Regions from separate parts of the Homo sapiens genome. Here region 2 is linked to region 1. The links are contacts of gene promoters, found by promoter capture Hi-C in blood cells and fetal thymus (Javierre and others, 2016). All regions are on one chromosome and are shown on one strand. Each heading gives the region's core, a stretch centred on a gene start or on the middle of the fragment in contact. The rest is flanking DNA. Distances are from core to core; before and after follow the strand shown.

Region 1 (3,062 bases), core at 161-2,660:
AGTTATGCCTTTTAGAAATTAGGGAGCAAGAGATATATAGAAAAATTAGAAATGTCTCTTCTACCTTTATTAAGTCTACCTTTGAGAAATATGAAGGGCAGGAAGACGGAAAAACGAACAGAACTTCTGCTGGAATATTGTGACAAATTTACTGACAAATATTTTCTAATAGATTTTTACCAACAGGCAGTTTTTGTTTTCTTTACTGACAGACCGTAAATGTACTTCTGGTTGGCAGCAGCTGCATCATTATAACACAAAAGCAACCTTGGCTAACTTCAGTACCTTATGTAACATAAGAAATAAAGAATAACTTGAATTTAAAATACTTTTTATATGTTTACTAACATTAAACTATTTTCAATGCAGGAAATAAATATTTCCCCAAAGAGGAATCCCCCCTCAATTACTTTCTTTCAGACTTAACAAATTGGAGTAGATGTGGTTTTGCTCATTCTTTTATCTGCTGGCAACTATTTTAAGTCTCCTGTGCAAGGCAGATTCCGATGACCTCGGGAAAGTCACAGGACCTCAGTTTCTTCAATGGTAAAAGCAAAGGCAGTGGTTTCTACCGTCCTTTCTCACTGCACCATTCAGCGTCAGTGCCCTCATGAGAAACACACCCAAAGCCCAGTGTGCTCTACCCCAAAACTTGTGAAATTTCTAGAGTCTCAAAAAAGTGAATATGTTTAAGGCAGTATAATAAAAGCCAGGTGGACGACAGTTCCTAAAGTTAGGCTGGTAGTGGCGTGAACAGGGGTCTTTTGGGCCACCCTGAGACCCGCCCCACGGGGCTTCTCGATCCACGTCTTGGCTTCTCGCTCCACTTTCACAGAACGTACTGAATCAGGGGCCTGCATCCCCGTGCCGTGCCGAGCCGACGGAGAAATGGACTCCTCTTCTCGCTCCTGTGGAGTTTCGTCTTCTGGGTGAGTGTGGCACCGGGTCCTGGGCGGGTGATGTCTGTAGTTGGCGAGCGATCCTCAGCCAGAAAACTGGCTGCGCACACAGGCGCAGACACGCGAACATGTTCCTGCGAACGAGCTTGGGCGCATGTTTTCCTCCCTTGCTTTCTTTAATGCTCAGAGACCATAAGGGGATTTATCGAGAAGCATTCGGTGCCCATGCCCGGTTTGGAACCGCGAGCACAATATCTGGTTCCTTTGCAGTACGGTGGTTTGCTCTTGAGTTACGACCAGAAACCGGAACAGAAGGAAAGGGAGAAGCAGGGGAGGTTCGGGGACGACGGCGCTCCGGGCAGTAAGGCAGTAGCTTCCAAAGCGTGGAGGATGGGACTGAGGAGGAGCAGAATACGGAGAAAGAGGGAAGCTGAGGAAAAATACTCACGCCAATGGGTAAAAGGGAAAAGGTGAGAAGGAATGGAGTAGGGGAGGGAACCAATGGTGGGAGAGGCGGAGGAAGAAGGGGGAGGGGTAGAAGCCAATGGGGGAGTGGAGGGGAGGGAGAAGCAGAGGGGAGGAGGGAGCGGGGACGCGAGCGAGGACGCGGCCCCGCGCGCTCGTCCCCCTCCCTCCGACTGGATAGCTCGCGCCTTCCCAGGCTCCCGGGAGACGAGGGCAGGGGCGGGGCCGTGCCGGGTGCGCGGCGCGGGAGGCGTCGCGAGGTGAAGGGGCGGGGACGGGGGATTGTGGGGAGGGCAGCGCGGGTTCGCGCGCGCGCGCGCGTCCCGTCCAGGCTGCGCCGCCGCGCCGCCGCTCCGCCCCCGGTCGGGTGTGTGGCTGCGCGCGCCGGGAGAGATGCTGAGGTAAAGTTCGGGAGAGAGGGAGAGAAATCCGTCAGCGCGAGGGAGCCCGAGTGGCCGCCATTACTGAGCCCGGCGCGGCGGCGGGCGCTGGGGAAGGGGGGAGGGACGGGCCGCCGCTGGTGGCGGGGAGGGAGGGAGGGAGGGTGGGTGAGCTGGCTGCGGGAGCCGTGGGGCTCAGGGTTTCGGGGCGTGTGTGTCGGGGAGGGCGGGGGGAGGTGGCTGAAGGGACGCGCCGCTCGGTGAGCGCGCCGAGGAAGAGAGGCGAGCGGAGAGTGGAGGAGGAGGCGGCGGCGGCGGGAGCGGTCCCCAGGAATGTCGCTGCCGCCGCCACCGCCGGGGCCGCTGCCGTTGAGGAGGAGACGGAGGAGACCGACGTTGTTAGGTAGGACCTTGCGGACCCCGCTCCTCCAAGCCTGCCTGCCCCCTCCCGGACGGGGACCCTCCTGCGGCTAGCTGCCCCGCTCGGTCGCCGCTGCCGGTTGTAACCAGTTGAAGGGGCTGGGGCCCCGCGGCCGCCGAGGGGAGCCTGGCGCTGCGCTCGGTTTTCGCAGGCCGGGCGGGCAGCAGCTGCAGCGTTAGGGATACGTTCGGCGTGAAGGGCAGAGAGGCCGGGGGAGGGGGTGCTTTCTCCACAGGTGACGGGGCCAGGGTCGGCGGAGGCCTGATGCTGGCCGGGGATCGCCGGCCCCGCCAGGCGTCCGCTCTCGCCCGCCGCCTCACTTGCTCGAGTCTCGGGTGGTCCGTCGAGAGGGGAGGTGGCGGTGTCCGTTGGCCGGGTTGCTGCTGTTAACGAGTTCCACCTGGAAAGGGTACACGGGGCGGGTGCAGATTCGCGGAAACACAGTCTCGGTTGCAAACTTAAACGCCTTGTAGGGGGGATCGGCCCTTTCACTTTCCCTCATCTCCTCGACTCCTCCCTGGGTTCTCTTCACCAATTTTCCATCTGCTTTGAAGCTTGGAGTAAGATATGAGAAGTTGCACTGCGCATCCAGAGCCCAGAGTCCTATGGGCTGACTGCGACTGGGTTGAGGCTTTGATACTGAGTTTTCGCTAGAATAACCTCCAGATTCTTCCTCTCTTTCCACTAAAGAAAAGTATCGGGGTGGGGGTGGGGAGCCGCGCGGGAGCGCGCGCGCACTTATCCACACAGAAATACTCCCTCTCACCCTCCCTCTTCAGCGTTATTAGAAATGCAAGAGAGCTGGAGGCTCGGGGTGTAGCTGAGGTTGAAAGGTGCACGGAAGTAAGGGCAAACTGTTATTAGGCCGTTTAGTAAAATCCCGAAAAAGTTGTAGGG
Region 2 (3,062 bases), core at 270-2,769, 2.4 Mb after region 1:
CTTCTATTAAATATGCATTCAAGTATATATTTTACAAGGCATGACCTTGCGAGCCCTAAAGAGTGAGACTAAACTGCAGCTACAAATAAATGGTGCAGGAAATCAAAGCAAACTATATTCAGAGTCTAAATCCAAAATATGCATTCTGGTTCTTAAATTCCAGGTTTGGAAAGAAATGCCAACAGTAATAAATAAATAAACTGCTTTGAAAGCATCTCAAATTCCTCAAAAGTGCTTAAACAAAAGACTCAGCTTTGAGTACAACCTTAAGCTATCTCAAAACAAATAAACACACTTGATAAGGCTTAGAATGAAATTACCTCAGTCACTCACTGGAATGCAACAATGCATTCGCAAAGTTATTCTGAAGTAAGCTACTCCAACTAAACCACACTGAAAAGGAGAGAACGTGGATAAACTAAACATGTTTTGTGAAATACCTGTTTTGTATTGGCCTGAGTTTTTTAAAAGTTACATCTCATTCATTATCAGTATTTAATCTGCAAGAATATCATCAAAGGATGTCAATATGGACAAGCAGAGACAAGAAACATCAGACTTTCAGGGAGCCTATCTTCACAACCCTGAGTTATTAACTGAAGTTCTCAAAGTTAGATGAGTTAAGATACAGACAACGTGCTTTGCACAAATGCTTTGCTTATAGTAACCACTCAATAGTCATTAACAAGAATTTATTAACTATCCACCAAAACACAGTTTCAAACCCTACCGACAACTAACCACAAATTGCACCACTTTTCGGGCCGACTTCTACGGACGGTGCACAGAAGCAATAAATACACTTTTAAAACTCCCCAACTTGAAGACCAAAAAGATACAATAACTTAAACTGCTTTCAAAAACTACTGGAGTGTCATGCCTACAAATTCAGAACCTGGCTTAAAAGCTAGTTAACTGACTAGAATTCTTGGTAGACCCAAAGCCAACTAAATCAGGAACACTTAAAGGTCAAAGGCGTCCAAGCCGGGAGCGATGTGCTCCACTGTTACATGATCCCCGCCTCCTACAGGAACAGGGGACTGAACCAAAGGCAGTTGCGGCCGAAGTGCAGGCGACACACAGGGTTACACATCACCTTCGGAGATTTCCTCCAGGAATCAAGACGCTTCCCCCTTGGGTCCAGCGACTCACAGGTGACCCCGGATCTCAAGAGTTCTCGTCTCCCCCACCCCCCACTTAACCCCGCGAGCGCCGCCCTCGGCCCCCAGACCTCCCCCTGCACCCCCGGCTTCCGCGCACAGGACCGGCGGGGCCGCCGCTCCAGCCTCCACCCCAGGCCCGGGGCCTGGGGAAATGCGGCCCCGCGGCCCGCGCCCCCAGCCCGGCCCCCGCGCGCGCGGCCGGGACAGGATACTGAACACCGTCCGCTCCCAGGGCTCCAGCATGTAGAGCGCCGTGACCAGCAGGTACTGGTAGTAGAACCAGGACATCTGCTTCCAGGCCCGCGCCAGCGCCATCCCCGCCATGCGCCTCCCGCGATGCAGCTCACACGTCAGTCTGTCCGGCCGGCCGCCCGCTCACGTCCTAAAGCCCCCGGCCGCCAGGCCCGCCCGCCCGCCACCCAGCGCCCATTGGCCCGCCCGGCCCCGCCGTCACCCGCGGCACGCCCAGACCCGCGCGCGCCCCGGCCGCCGGCCCCCAGCCCCGCCCGACCCGCGCTCATTGGCCAGGCCGCTACCTCGCGTCGCGTCGTCCCCTCCCGTTTCCCCGCCCGGGCATCGCCCACGCTAGCCGGAGAACGGTCCCCGCGAGAGCGCCCAGCCGCGCCCCACCCCGCCCGGGCCGGCCGGTGGTGGGCGGGGCGTCAGTGCCGGCCGGGGTCCCGGGGCCCCCGCAGCCCAGCGGGCGCTCGGTCCGTCCAGACTGGCCCAGAGCGCTTGCGGAAGAAATATTTCTGGAACACTTGTTATGCCTCAGGCATCCTTCTGAGAAGGAGGATTGCCAGGGAGAACCGGAATGCCTTCGGTTCCTTACCTTGTGCAGCTGGCGGCCTAGCTGGGAGACAAGCATTAATCAAGTCGTGATCCGTGTAAGAGGAGATAAGGGGCTGAGAGAGGGTGAGGAGGCGAACGCCACCTAATAAGGAGGTCTGGAAAGGCGTCCTTGTAGAAGGGATGCACATTCGGCCTCCTTCCTCCCTTCCCCCACCCATGCACACACACACACACACACACACACACACACACACACACACACACACCCCTAGACGGACATAACCCATGCACTCCCTAACCCAGAGACCACTTACCAAAAACATCTATCTGCCCACCTCTTAGTGGCTGTAGGTAACCACCAAGTGGGTCAAGGCCAGAAGCGCGCTGATCTAGTGGGTTCTGCAGAAGACAGGCAGCTTGAGATTGGTGTGAGGGCTGGTGATACTTCCCTAGAGATGCACTCCTGGATGCCCAGATTTTCCCACTGCCAGATGGGCCAGCAACATTGCACTGGCCACAAGGAGCTCCATGCACTGGTGTAGCATGTGAACTGCCACAATTAAATGGCCTGCTGTTTAAATGTTAAAAGTCTTCCAGGTTAAACATACTACTGCTTAAACTTTAAAAGTTTCATGGTTAATAACTATTCATTAAAAGTACCAAGTGCCGGCCAAGCGCCGTAGCTCATGCCTGTAATCCAAGCACTTTGGGAGGCTGAGGCTGGCGGATCACTTGAGTCCAGAAGGTCGAGACCAGCCTGAGCAACATGGTGAAACCCCGTCTCTACCAAAAAAAATAAGTAAATACATAACAAAAAGTTAGCCAGGGGTGGTGGCGTGCACCTGTAGTCCCAGCTACTCAGGAGGTTGAGGCGGGAGGATTGCTCGAGCACGGGAGGTCGAGGTTGCAGTGAGCCAGGATGGTGCCACTGCACTCCATCTTAGGTGGCAGAGCAAAAGAAAGGAAAGAAAGGAGACAGAGAAAGAGAGGAGAAAACAGAAGAGAAGAGAAGAAAAGAAAGAAAACAGTAAGTAATATCAAGTGCCAGACATTGGGATAGCAAGCCAGATAGACTGAGACCTGCCTTCATAAAGTACCCAGTCTGCT

The links. Contacts are between HindIII fragments. The CHiCAGO score rates a contact against its expected background, and 5 or more counts as called.
Region 2: the fragment with the promoter of SPTSSA here is called in contact with the fragment with the promoter of ARHGAP5-AS1 in region 1 in 1 of 17 cell types (erythroblasts); the score reaches 5.6 in erythroblasts.

Annotation. Positions count from the first base shown.
Region 1 is chr14:32,075,289-32,078,350 of GRCh38, forward strand. It overlaps ARHGAP5-AS1 (ARHGAP5 antisense RNA 1 (head to head)), which reads right to left and starts at 1,411. Exons shown (of 1, transcript NR_027263.1): 1 at 131-1,411. ARHGAP5 (Rho GTPase activating protein 5) reads left to right here and starts at 2,016. Exons shown (of 7, transcript NM_001030055.2): 1 at 2,016-2,147. RefSeq lists silencers at 1,437-1,696, 2,057-2,276, 2,075-2,369. The HindIII fragment of the contact is 3,747 bases long and covers 1-2,717 here.
Region 2 is chr14:34,460,721-34,463,782 of GRCh38, forward strand. It overlaps SPTSSA (serine palmitoyltransferase small subunit A), which reads right to left and starts at 1,520. Exons shown (of 2, transcript NM_138288.4): 1 at 1,376-1,520. The coding sequence starts at 1,487. RefSeq lists enhancers at 733-842, 1,383-2,333 and silencers at 1,243-1,412, 1,533-2,042. The HindIII fragment of the contact is 5,560 bases long and covers 1-3,062 here.